Regions from separate parts of the Homo sapiens genome. Here region 1 is linked to region 2. Evidence: promoter capture Hi-C in 16 types of primary human blood cells and fetal thymus (Javierre and others, 2016). All regions are on one chromosome and are shown on one strand. The core of a region is centred on a gene start or on the middle of the fragment in contact, and the rest is flanking DNA. Distances in the headings are between cores, read along the strand shown. Region 1 holds the start of SLC18B1 (solute carrier family 18 member B1). Region 2 holds the start of ZBTB2 (zinc finger and BTB domain containing 2).

Region 1 (6,771 bases), core at 905-3,404, about 19 Mb before region 2:
AACATTGCACTCCAGCCTGGGCAACAAGAGCGAAACCCTGTCTCGAAAGGAAAAAAAAAAAAAAAAAAAAAAGGAAGGGGGGTCGGGAATCAAAACGTCCTAATTCTAAAATGTGAATAAAACCTCGAGAAAATAGTTACTGTCTTAACACAGACCTATTGCAGTAACATTTGAATCTCAGTTATTCAGTGCACTCCTTTGTTTCAGTTGCAGAAACCAAATAAAGATTAATCAGACTACATGGTAAGAAAAGTAATTCTCAGAAGATCAACTACTTTTAGGTGAATTACCTCCCAAGAAGATGTTCTTTTTGACTGGATTTTTTTTCCTGGTATCAGGCATTCTATAAGAAGTATTCTATTGGCTGGAGTTCTATACACCATCTGTCCTATATGCAGATTTTTACATTTTATATACTATAAAATAAAATAATTCAAAAGGCTTTTAAAAAACAAACAAACAAAAAAACAGAGGTCCTAAGGATTTAAAAATGTCTTACCTCTTTGGGGAAAAACGGTCCAAGTATAGAATAGCACATCATGGAACCTAAGTTCACCGAAGCTGCCGATATCAGTACAAAAACCTGTTCTCTCGAAAGCCACCCGGGGGTCTCTCCTGCACTTCCTGCAGGATCATCACCTTGAATGCAAACATGCAGCAATTAGGCATATAATTGAGACTACTGATTAAAGTACACAAATGTGATTTCTGTGCACATATGTTGCACTCTGAAGATATCATTTGCTAAGCTTAGGGCTATTTTGAATATAGCACATTTGATCAAATGGAACACAATCCTTGTACATTACTGCCGTTTTGAAAACGTACTGCTTTCGGCTGGGCACGGTGGCTCACGCCTGTAATCCCAGAACTTTGGGAGGCCGAGGCAGGCGGATCACGAGGTCAGGAGATCGAGACCATCCTGGCTAACACGGTGAAACCCCGTCTCTACTAAAAATACAAAAAATTAGCCGGGCGTGGTGGCGGGCCCCTGTATCCCAGCTACTCGGGAGGCTGAGGCAGGAGAATGGCGTGAACCCGGGAGGCGGAGCTTGCAGTGAGCCAAGATCGCACCACTGCACTCCAGCCTGGGCTACAGAGAGAGACTCCGTCTCAAAAAAGCAAAACAAAACAAACAAACAAAAACAAAAACAAAAACAAAAAACAAAGATTTCTAAGGCAGTATTGAAGTCAAATGAAGTGTAAGTAGGAGAAAACAAGCTAAATCATTCAGCTGGTGAATTAATATTTACAGCGGTATGCTTCTGGATAGACAAGTCCCACAAATTCATAAATAAATACTTTTTTTTTACCCTAATTACTGGTCTTTTACATCAGTTAATTTAACACTTATTTCCAGGGCTAAATTGTCATTTAAAAACACGAAATCAATTACTGAGTTCCAAATATCCAAGCAAATCCATCAGCCATTTATAAATTAAATTGTTTTTAGGAAAAACTTAAGAGAAATACATTTGCTTTGCTCTATTTGTCAGAGGTTGCCATTGCAGTCCAGAAGGAAAAAAAAAATCAGTGCAACATGAGGAAGTCTTACGAATCTTTGTAAAATGTTTGTAGTAGATGAGAAAGGGAAATGAAAGTTAAAAAGAAAGGCAACAACAATGGGTACTTGAAAGGTAACGTTTTACATTTGCCTAATGGCATACTTATTTGAATGCATTAAACACACAGTACTTAAAAAGCAGAGGTATAGGTTAGAAAGTCATTAGAAACCGTGACACATATCCAATCCTGGAACTTTACCCCGTCCAGAGAGAAAAGAAACGCTGGCCCGAACCCCACGATCAGGCCCCAGCCTTTTCCAATCTCTCGGAAACAGATCAAGCTATAAGCAATTCAATCGTTGCTAAAGAGACACGCCGGAAGCCGCCGCTGGTCTCCGGGCTCCCGGCCACGCAATTCATGGTCACCTCCTGGTGCGCGTGGTCCCTCCAGGTCACCCAGCGCCTCCATCCCCGGTGCGTGGACTCCGGCGCCCCAGCTCCCGGCTTCAAGCCACGTCCTTGGACTCGACCTCCAAGGAGCCACTGGCACTCTGGCGGGCGGCCGCTGCTCAGCTGGAACCTGGCATCCCCGACTCCCTGCAGGCAGCGATCCGCCCGGCCCGGAGCTCCCCAAAGCCTTCCAGGACTCTGGGTCCCCGGGAGGAGGCCGGGGGCGGGGCAGGGGTGGAGCAAGGCTCCTTTTTTTTTTGTTTTGCGCCCCCCCCCCGCCTCATTATCTTAATCCACCACCTCAGCTGCTATATCATGGTGTCCTTTTTCATTCTGTGACAGAGAGTGAAAAAAGATGAGTCTATATTCCATACAGCTGTACCCCCCTCAATCTTAAAATAAGTTCAATTTATTCCTACGAAACGAAAGAAAGGAAGCTTATGTAGACACAGAAAAGGCAGGGAGTACCTCAACTGAAAGACACAAAAGTGAATTAGAAAATTAGGTTATACAGGAACTTTGAAAGAGTGAATTATTTTTCACAGTGGGTAAATGCGGTAGTGTTCGTAATTACTGAAGCCAGACACTATTGAACCGGAAATGAATTAACCTATGTGAAGCACCTGGAGTCGAAAAATATTTGCAAGAATACTAATGAATATCGAGGAAGCATGGCGAAGTGGCTAGGAGTGCGACCTCTGGAGGCAGGTGCCAGGGATTCAAGCCAGGGCACTTGCTGGCAGTGTGTAACTTTGGATGACAAGGTCAGTTTCTCTACCTGTACAACTGAGATTATAATGTTTATCTCGTAGGGCGGCTGTGAGCATTGGCGATAAAGTGTGTTAGTAGTTAGCACATGAACATGATGGCTGCTACCTTACTCTCACACTCACAGTTTTCTTGCATAAAAAATAGGTTTCACTTATTTTCACCGTATTTACTATTTGGGAAGTGTTAAAGCTCGAGGACTGGCTGGACACGGTGGCTCATGCCTGTAATCCCAGCAGTTTGGGAGGCCGAGGTGGGCAGCTCACCTGAGGTCAGGAGTTCTAGACCAGCCCGGCCAACATGGTGAAACCCTGTCTCTACTATAAAAATACAAAAAAATCAGCCAGGCGTGGTGGCAGGCACCTGTAATCCCAGCTACTAGGGAGGCTGAGGCAGGAGAATCGTTTGAACCTGGGAGGCGGAGGTTACAGTGAGCCAAGATCCAAAAGAATTGTGTGAGGGTAGCTTTATCGACTGAGAATCTGCCTCAGATCCACTGTACAAGGTCAGTTCCAGTACACAGTATGGCTGATAGTAAGTTTGTAATTACTGTGCCACCTCATTCCAGCCTGGGTGAAAAAGCGAAACTCTGTCTCAAATAAATAAATAAAGTTTAAGGACTGGGAAATTCTTGTTTTGAAGCCAAAGCAAAACAAAAGACTGAGTTACCACTTTGTGCCAGGCATTATGAATTTAAAGAGGAATGAGCCCCATCCAGACTCTGCCCTCAAGTAGCACACCTTCTAGCAGATGAAATTCACACTAATTAATAATCTACTATAATGCAATCGGTTGTATACAAACATATTGGAAGAACCATTTACTTTGGCAAATGGGTCCTGGATGACTTCCTGAGGAAGTGATGTTACCTTGGTTCTTGAAGGTTATGTAAAAACTCCCCAGTGAGGGCCGGGCGCGGTGGCTCACGCCTGTAATCCCAGCACTTTGGGAGGCCGAGGTGGGCGGGTCACGAGGTCAGAAGTTCGAGACCTGCCTGACCAACACGGTGAAACCCCGTCTCTACAAAAATACAAAAATTAGCTGGGCATGATGGCACCCAGCTACTCAGGAGACTGAGGCAGGAGAATCGCTTGAACCTGGGACTCGGAGGTTGCAGTGAGCAGAGATCATGCCATTGCACTCCAGCCTGGGCAACCGAGCGAGACTCCATCTCAAAAAAAAAAAAAAAAAAATTCCCCAGTGGGCAAGTTGTAAAGGAGAACCTAGAGAACCACTCTGAACAGAAAGTTCCACTCTAAGCCAGGTGCTGTGGCTCACGCCTGTAATCCTAGCACTTTGGGAGGCCGAGGCAGGCAAATCACCTGAGGTCGAGAGTTTGAGACCAGGCTGACCAACATGGAGAAACCCTGTCTCTACTAAAAATACAAAATTAGCTGGGCATGGTGGCGCATGCCTGTAGTCCCAGCTACTCGGGAAGCTGAGGCAGGAGAATCGCTTGAACCTAGGAGGCAGAGGTTGTGGTGAGCCAAGACAGCACCATTGTGCTCCAGCCTGGGCAACAAGAGTGAAACTCCATCTCAAAAAAAAAAAAAAAAAAAAAAAAAGAAAAGAAAAGAAAGTTCCAATCTAGCAAAGTTTCCCTAAAGTAGCCTTATGAAATCTTTATGATCTAACCCCTGACAGCTTCTCCAATCTCATTTAACTCTATGCTTTCTCTTCAATCTAACATCAATCTGTAGAGGGAAATTTTCTTGAATGATTTCTTTGATGATTACATTTCCTCTTTTATTTTCTTTCTGGACTGCACTTTATGTGAATGTTGGGTCACCCAAACTGGTCCTTTTACTTATTTCTCTTTTTCTTCTCTCTTTTATTTTATTTTATTTTTTTTAGACAGGGTCTCACTCTGTTTCCCAAGCTACCATGACATATAATGGCTCACTGCAACCTCAAATTCCTGAGCTCAACTGATCCTCCCACCTCAGCCTCCCGAGTAGGTGGGACTATAGGCCTGTGCCACCACACCTGGCTAGTTATTATTTTTTCTTTTTTTTTCCTCCATGTTATAGGAAGTATCCCTAACTGTATCTTGCCATCTGAATTTTTGCCAACTGAATCTTGCCAACTGTATCTTGCCAATTGAATGTTTCATTTCTGTTGCCATCTATTTCCTTGTATCTCCATTCTCATTCCTCTCCCCATTTGCAATAATTCTTGCATGTTTAATGCAAATCTTGTTCTTTATGTTCTCAAAAAAATCTATGTTCTTATGTGTCCATCTACTTTTAATTTACATAAAGTCTATTCATATCCCTATCCTCCGCTCCTCTTGTAATCTCTACCTCTCATTCTCCCTTCAGATAATCAGTTTTATAATCAAATATATTATTGTGTTAGTTTTCTGGGGCTGCTGTACAAATCAACACAAATTTGATAGCTTAAAACAAGGTCCTCAAAGCCAGAAGTTCAACATCAGTTTCACTGAGCCAAAATCAAGGTGTCAGCAGGATCATGTTCCCTCTAGAAGCTCTAGGGAAGAGTCTGTTTCTTGCCCCTTGAAGCTTCTAGTGACTATTGGCATTTTGTGCCACATCACTGTAGTCTCTGTTTCTGTGATCACTGTGCCTCTTCTTTTCTGTGTGTAATCTTCGTTTGCCAGTCTCTTGTAAGGATATTTTGAATGAATTTAGGGCCCACCTGGATAATCCAGGATGACCTCTTCATCTCAAGTTCTCCAATTTAGTCACATCTGCACAGACCCTTTTTTTCATATAAGGTAACATTTACAGGTTCCAGGGATTAGGATGTGGACGTATCTTTGGAATCCATTATCAGCCTACCACAATTATCTATTCATAGTTTGATATGCTCATTTAGACATTCATACACATATGGAATATTTGTTTCTTTACAAACTAAAATGGAGTAATATGGTCTTTGTTTAAATGCCACCTCCTCAGAGAAATTCATTCTTTTTTATTATTTATTTATTTAATAATAGAGATGAGGTTTCACCATGTTGCCCAGGCTGGTGTCAATCTCCTGGACTCAAGCAATCCATCTGCCCTGGTTCCCCAAAGTGCTGGGATTACTGCCGTAAGCCACCATACCTGGCCAAGAAATTCATTCATTTTTTTTTTTTTTTTTTTTTTTGAGATGGAGTTTCACTCTTGTTGCCCAGGCTGGAGCACAATAGTGCTATCTTGGCTCACCACAACCTCCACCTCCTAGGTTCAAGCGATTCTCTTGCCTCAGCTTCCTGAGTAGCTGGGACTACAGGCATGCGCCACCATGCCCAGTTAATTTTGTATTTTTAGTAGAGACAGGGTTTCTCCATGTTGGTCAGCCTGGTCTCAAACTCTCAACCTCAGGTGATCCTCCCGCCTCGGCCTCCCAAAGTGCTGGGATTACAGGCGTGATCCACCGCGCCCGGCTAAGAAGTTCATTCTTATGCCCTTATCCAAATACAGCCCTAGTCCTCCTTTGTCCTTTCACCTTTCTATTTTTCTTCCTGGCATTTCTATCAGTCAGAGTTCCCTGTTGCTAATAAAAAACAAAGCAACGTTGGCTAATTTAAGCAGAAAATGAATTCATCATTGATTATTAGGTAACACATAGTATCATCAGGAGGATCATGCATACCACTTAGAGGCTAAGTGCCTAAAGTCACACCACCTAAGCGGTCCAGTATGCATGGCACTGCAACCCTGCTGGACGTACATCTCCAGCACATGCTGCCAATACCACTGGAGCCAGGTATGAGACACTGTAATTAGAACATCATCCCCACTCCTCAAGAATGCTGCCACTCTCACCAGAAGAGATTTTAGGTGGTGCTAGCTTCTTCCACTCACTTGCTTCCATTGCATATCAAGACCCAATGTGTTTGAAGTCAGGCAGTAAAAAGTGTCCAAGTACGTTCTTCTTTTTCAAGAGTGGTTTGAATATTTTAGTTACTTTGACTTTCTAGAGAAATATCACAATTAGCTCTCATATTCTCCAAACAACCTGGTGGAATTCTTACTGGTATTTTTTTTACTCCATATATCAATTTGGAGAGAACTGATATTGAATCACTATTAAGCTT
Region 2 (7,248 bases), core at 1,558-4,057:
ATATAAAAGCAGGTGTCACCGTGGCAGCTTTTATTCTATAACTTAAAACATGATTAGCGTTTATTCTCTGCTGCTAGTGGTAGAGATTGCTCAGCATCAACGTATTTACATCCCCTTTGAAGAGAAGCTTTAAAACTGGCAAGTATGCACTGGGACTGTAGGACAAAGTTTTAGGGGCGTAGACTACACTCCACTGTAGTGTAGACTGCTCCTCCACTGTTGACCATCAGTGGCACCGGCGTATCACTTCTTGTACTTACGATGGCTTCAATAACTGGACAATTCTTTGTCTAGCAAACAAACCACAAGTTTATTAAATGAGAAATGCCCAGTTTAAAAGGATGTCCTATTAGTGGTAAATTACTATGCCTTTAAAAACTGCCTTCTTGTCCAGGAGCGGTGGCTCACCCCTGTAATCCCAGCACTTTGGGAGGCCAAGGCGGGAGGATCACTTGAGCCCAGAAGTTCAAGACCGTCTCGGGCAACATAGCGAGATCCCTGCCTCTTACTAAAAGGAAAAAAGAAAAAAGAAAAAAATGACCTTTTAACAGTTTGAAAACATCCTGGATACACAACAAGATCATTCAAAATGCAGTGGAATTTACCTTACCAATTTATAATTTTGGTTTGTGATAAATCAGTCAAATGAGAATTAAAATGGCACAGTCCCAATTCTCTATTAAACGTTCAGGGTACTCCCACACTAAAACGCTAGTGGTGTGTACAACTCGCCCTGGTGCTCCAACGGGGTTGGCATAGATGGATGATTTACATTAGCAAGGACAGGGCAGCGCGTTTAAGCAAACCCAGAGACCCCCTGGAGTTCTGATAATTCTGACCTTCTTTATGCTTTATTTTACTAAAACAATACCCTGATAAAATGAATAGAATCAAGGCTCACAAACTCAGTGGACCCATTGTATGATGAAAGAGCTAATGAACAATGCAGCTGGGGGAGGCGGGGAGCGAGAGCCGGGTTATATCCCCAAGGCATAATTAGGAGTTCACGTATTCGGGTGGAAGTTCCTGCAGTAAAAGGCGTAGCTGCAGCTTCTCCCGGCCCAGGCACTCGCCTGCTCTGCTACCCTCGCTTCTTTATTGCCTCTTTTACTACCAGCTAAAAGCGGCAAAACCCAGCTTCCTTTGCAGCTTCTGGCTAAAAAGTTCTCTCTTGCGGCTTTGTTTAAACAAGAAGGGTTTAGAGGTTTCGCTACACCGAGAAAACGACGCCGGCCCCGGGAAGCAGCCTCCCCGCCTTGGAGTCCGGTTGGGGCGTGAGGGCCGCGCGGGTCCCACGCCCCAAGGCTAAGCAGCCGAAAGCACAGCGCGCTCGGGGCCAAACCGGGCTGTATCGCAGGCGCAGATGGCGCGTCGGGCGGAAGCTGGAGGCCGCCGGCTCAACACGCTCCGTACCCGGGACTGGGGCCCGGCCTGCAGCCTCAGCGAGCAGGCGACAAGGGCGGCGCCACAGAGGCCGACGCGTCCCCCGCCCGCCTGAGCGCGCCGCAACAGCCACCTCGTCCCACCCGCCCCGGGGCGGGGCCGGGGGCGCGGCGCCGGGGCCCTCTGGCCCCCTCCGGTCTCGCCGGCCCCGCCCCCTCCCTGTCCCCGTCCCCGAGGGGCTGAGGGGGAGGGAGGGGCGACGCACTCCGGCCGCGTTGCACGCTCGCCGCTTCCCTCAGTCCCGCGTGCGCGCGCGCGCTCGCCCCAAGTCCCGCGGAGTTTAACACAATGCCGACGCCTACGCCGTGCGCAACGCCCCGGCCGGCGCAACAGCCCCGGCGCCGGGGGCGGGGGTGGCCCAGACAGGGAGAGAGGGAGAGGGATGAGCGCGCGCGAGAGCCGGAGACAGCGCGAGACCCGAGGAGGCCGGAAGCGCGCGTGCGCGCCCCCGCCCGCGAGCGGGAGGCGGAGCCGCAGCAGTAGCGGCAGCAGCTGTAGGAGCCGCTGCAGCTGGGAGAAGCGCCAGAGAGGCCGGGCCTGCTCCGGTCGGACCGGATCCCTCCCCTCCCCCTCCCTCCTCCCTCCCCTCCCCCAAACCCACTTCCGCAGCTCGCGGCCTTGCCGCCGAAGCAGCAGCGGCGGCAGCAGCAGGAGGCGGCGGCGAGGCGTCGGAAGGATTACGCACCTGACGGGCCCGCCTCTGAGGGCTCCAGCGCGGGACGCTCACCGGCCGCCGCCGCCCAGGGCGCACTTCGCGGTGGCGGCGGGAAGGGAGGGACCGGCCACGGGGAACCGAACGCGAATCGCCCCCCTCCCCTTCCTCCCTCCCACCCTCCCTCCGATCCGCCGCCCGCCCTCTCGGCTTCCGTCCCCTCCCCCTCCCACAAAACCCCGGATGGAGGCGCCGCCGACTCGCCGCCGCCTGGCTCCGGGGGATGGTTTTGTCAAGCGGCCAGAGCCCCGGCGCCAGGCGCAGCCGCCGCCGCCCCCGCGAGGCGCCCCTGCCCTCGCTTCCCAGAACCGGGTCCCCGAGTGGCCCGGGCCTTCCGCCTGCCTGCACCCGTAGCCCTGGTACGAGGGTCATTCGTCGTCTTTGTTGCCACCGCCTCTGCCGGAACCGTTTGCGAGCTCCGGTGGCCCCCGCCCCCCCACCGCCTTCCCGGACCCTGGGCTGGGGGTGGCACGTGGGCACCGGCCCCGGGAGGCGGAGGCGGTGCGCGCTTACCTGTCGCCGGTGCTGCTGCGGCGGGGGGTGTGGAGGAGGCGCCTCTGGGCAGCCTCGGCCGTGCTGTCCTCCCCGCCGCCGCCGCCTCTGCCTCTCGCTGCTGCTGCTGCTGCTGCCGCCGCGGTCGGTGTCTCCGGCGCGGCGGCGGCGGCGGCGGCGGGGCTTTTCCTGTCCGGTTACGTTAAGGTCACATGACCGAGAGAGCGGAGAGACTAGTGCAAAGAGGCTGCGAGCGGCTCCCGCCGGGGGGGAGAGGCGGCGAGAGAGCAGTGGCGGCAAGAGCCCCCTCCGCCCCCCCCCCAGCCGCTCCCCTCCCCCCGCCCGCCTCCGCCTCCTGCTGCTCTGCCGCCGCCGCCGCCGCCTGCAGCACTCCACTGCCGCTCCCACCCAGGCTCCGCGCTCTGCTCCAGCCAAACTTCTGCAGACCATGTGCAGCCGAGGCGAGGAAACTTCTCTCCACCTATTGGGGCTGGAGGCCTGAGTCACAAGCCCCTTGTTTACATAAAGTGTTTAGGTAGCACAAGTCCTTGAGATGCTCGGGGTAGAGATGGAGAGCCACTGCTCGTATCCTTCTGCCGGCTTCTGCTTGAGATCTCTTGGCCTTTACCCTTGTCCCTTGACTTTTCGTGTTTGTTTTAATCTTTAAGACTTGAAATGGAGTGGCCTTTAGAACCGGGGAGATACTGTAAACCAGCAGTATCTTTGTGTCACCAATGGTAACTGAAAGTCATGCTGAAGTACAGATTCCTGTAGCGTGCACAGAGGCAGAGGTGCTTCCTTTACCTTGCAGATGAGTTGAGCGGCGTAAGATGTTTCTGTTAGGGTTGAATTTCATGGTTATTTCAGCAACGATTTTCGTTTTTGAAGTTTTGGCCCCCCCAAAAATGAAAGTCTGCAACGCATGTTTGTTAAGAGAACAGTTTATTCTCCTGTTAGGTTTTGGTCTTTGAGGTATGGATTCCAGAGTTGGCTATTCTGTTAGATTTAGAGGTGTGGAAAATCTTTTAACGGGGAGATCCTGAAACACGGAAACATGGCAGGGAAGTTAGAATTTCCTGATGGTCATTTTTAACATTTTAAAGTTTACTTTTTGGTTGTTGCCATTTTTCTAGAATCCGTGTCTTTTTTGGGGAAATACAGTCCTTTGAGGACTAGAATTTAATGATTTCTTTACACATCTAGGATTTTTTGAGATTTAGAAAGGATATGGCTTTATTCCTAAGGAAGTGGAGGCAGCAGTTTCTAGGATACTCTGGTTTCAAGGCATGCTAACTTGGTTGTGATGTCTAACCCATTTTGGTTTACACAGTCTGACCACTAGCACAATGCCTGGCACATAGTTTACAAATCATTTAAGGCAAGCTTACCATCTTAAGACAATTTAATACATAGAAGTGTCCCTCCTAAAAATCTGAGTTTGATTTAGAAATCCAGTTATACCTGCAGGTACTGATGACTAATTCCTTCTTTGAAGACAAAATAAGCAGCTGTGTAGCTTCAGTGGCTCTCAAATGGATAATAGATTCAGTGTATACTCGCTTTGAACTTTCCTGTTTTTTGATCAGCTAGATAAATGACTTTAGTGGGTAAATGTCTGCCTCCAAAACCAAATTCTGACCCTGATCTAAGTATTCTACTGCACCGCTGTCACTGGAATATCAAAGTTGGCCTTCAGACTGGTGCCTGGTTCCTTGGATTGGCTTGAGTATTGAGGTCTGTCTCATCTTACTAGGGAACTAAAATGATGTTGATTGTTTTGTAGAGAATTGTAATTAGAGATCTGTAGGTTCTTAATTCTTTTGGAATTCCATTCTGAAAATTTTCAACCTTATGGTGTTGGTGGAGTGCTCATGTGAAGAGTGAAACTGACTTAAGAATAAAAGAAAAAGTGGGCAAAACTAATGCTAAACTTGAGACCATTGGGCAGAAATTTGCCTGTGTGTGTAGAGTAATTGGTCTTGAGTCAAAGTAACTATGCTTATTTTTAACATCACTGAATATTTTCTAGCGTTACACTCTATATAGGCTTGTAGAAATAAACCCAGGGGTAAGCCCAGAAATTGAATATCAGTCCTAAAGAAAGCCTATCAAGAGCATCCTATTCTCTTTAAGAGCTGCTATTCGAATTTAGGACTGGGCTGGTTTGCTGCTCATTCTCTCGAGGCATAGGCAGCCACACTTGAATTTTGCCAAGTATGCAGATAATTCCAACTTGTAGTCAGGATCATCAGGTAATAGCATTATAAGGGGAGCTGTACAGACTGTATACTTTCTACAGTTTGTTGAAATAGAAACATTTATATGGATACATACATCTGCAAAGGTTAGGGAGAAAACGGTAGCCCTGGCAGAGAAGAGCTAGTTAGTGTATTTCAGGATAGGGCCAAGGGAAGCTGTCATTTCTCTACTAAGTCTCATTGTGGAAAAGCCACAAATGTCCCTAGTACAGTAATAAGGAAAAAAAGGCTGAGCGTGGTGGCTCACACCTGTAGTCCCAGGACTTTCGGAAGGATTGCTTGAGCCCAGGAGTTGCAGATCGGCCAGGACAATGTAAGAAAACCCCATGTATTAGAAAAAAAGAATTAGCCAGGCGTGATGGTGTGGGTCTATAGTCTCAGCTTGGGAGGCTGAGGTGGCAGGATCGCATATAGCCCAGGAGTTCGAGGCTGCAGTGAGCCATGATCGCATCACTGCACCCTAGTCTGGGCAACAGAGTCTCTAAAAAGGAAAAAAAAAAAAAAAGTTAAATCGCTGTTTAATTATGTGCCAATTTATTTTGGTATTTTGAGAATCTGGTAAATTAGGAATTCAAAAATAGTTTTAACACTTTTTACTTCAAAGAAAATCACAGTGCAAGCAATCTGAGTGGATTCATCAAAAGTTATACATGAATATTCTGCAGAGTCTGGTGTTGCTGAAAGTTTTGATTTGTGTTCTGCTGAGACACAACCATGAAAATATGCACTTGCTTGTATTCCGAAGAGGATAGTTCCAGTGAGACTTGGACAATGAGCAGAAAAAATTTTTTTTTGAGACGAGGTGTCGCTGTGTCGCCCAGGCTGGAGTGCAGCGGCGCGATATCTGCTCACTGCAACCTCTGCCTCCTGGGTTCAAGCGATTCTCATGCCTCAGCCTCCCAAGTAGCTGGGACTACAGGTGCCCGCCACCACACCCGGCTAATTTTTTGTATTTTTTTTTTTTTAGTAGAGACGGGGTTTCGCAGTGTTAGCCAGGATGGTCTCGATCTCCTGACCTCGTGATCCACCCGCCTCGGCCTTCCAAAGTGCTGGGATTACAGGTGTGAGCCATTGTGCCCAGCTCAGAAAATTTAATAGTACTAGATCTCGTGTGTGTGTGTGTGTGTGTGTGCGCGCGCTTAGGTTGAAGGTGGAATTTAACATTGATTTAAAAAAAATAATAGTAGGAAAAAATAAATGCGGTTTGAGTCCAAAGCAGCATTTTTCACTAATTTTATGAAGGAAGTCCTTTTGAGTAATGTCTTAAATTAGGAAAATGGCGTACTTTTACATGTTAGACATTAAACTCTAGGGCAGATAACCATGCCCTGTGTGTTGTGTATCAAGCTTAGCATATACATAGGAAAAGATGTATTGTGAGAGTGTCTTACATTTCGTTGGTTTGGTCATAAAGTTTATAGAAAATGCTTGTTTTATAGTTGGTTGTTATTGAGATGAGAGTCCCTCAAGGAACTCCCTATGCTTTAGGGAGCTTTTTGTTTTAAACCTACTGGTTAGACTTGTGGGTTTTAATGTTTTCAGCTGTGGTTGTAAGAAACACATTTTAAATTGCACCTAGTATAGACATACATGTAAAACAAACAAAATTTTTACGAAGTAGTACTTGTATTAAGAGTGATGTACTCTGCTATCTTCTATTTCATTTTTTTAAAGTTGATATTGCTGCCTTAAATTGATTTTTTCAACCACTAATGAGTCAGGACCCACTATTTAAAAAATACTGGTGTGTTCTCTTGCTGTTACGAATTAACCCAAAACTTAGTGGTTTAAAGCAATAAACTTGTGTTTATCTCATGTAGGTTCTGTGGGTCAGGAATCTGGGAGTAGCTTACTTAGGTGGTTCTGGGTCAGGGTTTTTCATGAGGTTCCAAGGTGGCTCTCATTTGGCAAGTCAGCTATGGCTGATGGTGGAAGTTCTTCATTGGACTGCTTGAGTGTCCTCAAGCAGTGGCGAAGGCTAGCTACCCGCAGAGTAGGTGATTCAAGCAAGAGCAGAGAGGAGGCCACACACCATCACTTCTGCCATATTCTATTAAAAAGAAGTCACTTAAGTCCAGCCCAAACTCAGGGGATGAGTATCAAAGAATTATGGACATAGTTTAATAGCTGCCACATTTATATGTTTTTCCACTTTATATTTTATTTATTTATTTATTTAGAGATGGAGTCTTGCTCTGTCGCCCAGGCTGGAGTGCAGTGGCGTCATCTCAGCTCACTGCAGCCTCTGCCTCCCGGGTTCAAGTGATTGTCCTGCCTCAGCCTCCCTAGTAGCTGGAATTATAGGTGCCCCCTACCACGTCCGGCTAATTTTGTATTTTTAGT

Evidence for each region. Contacts are between HindIII fragments. The CHiCAGO score rates a contact against its expected background, and 5 or more counts as called.
Region 1: a contact is called between the fragment with the promoter of SLC18B1 here and the fragment with the promoter of ZBTB2 in region 2, in 1 of 17 cell types (total CD4 T cells). The highest score is 5.4, in total CD4 T cells.

What each region holds. Positions count from the first base shown.
Region 1 is chr6:132,796,483-132,803,253 of GRCh38, forward strand. SLC18B1 (solute carrier family 18 member B1) reads right to left here and starts at 2,155. Exons shown (of 14, transcript NM_052831.3): 1 at 1,932-2,155; 2 at 500-639. The coding sequence starts at 1,974. RefSeq lists an enhancer at 441-941 and a silencer at 2,173-2,222. The HindIII fragment of the contact is 1,643 bases long and covers 748-2,390 here.
Region 2 is chr6:151,388,752-151,395,999 of GRCh38, forward strand. ZBTB2 (zinc finger and BTB domain containing 2) reads right to left here and starts at 2,808. Exons shown (of 3, transcript NM_020861.3): 1 at 2,669-2,808. It overlaps LOC124901232 (translation initiation factor IF-2-like), which reads left to right. Exons shown (of 3, transcript XM_047419613.1): 2 at 1,203-1,721; 3 at 1,954-7,248. The coding sequence ends at 2,853. RefSeq lists silencers at 1,370-2,299, 2,380-2,769, 2,780-2,839 and an enhancer at 2,821-3,693. The HindIII fragment of the contact is 3,903 bases long and covers 126-4,028 here.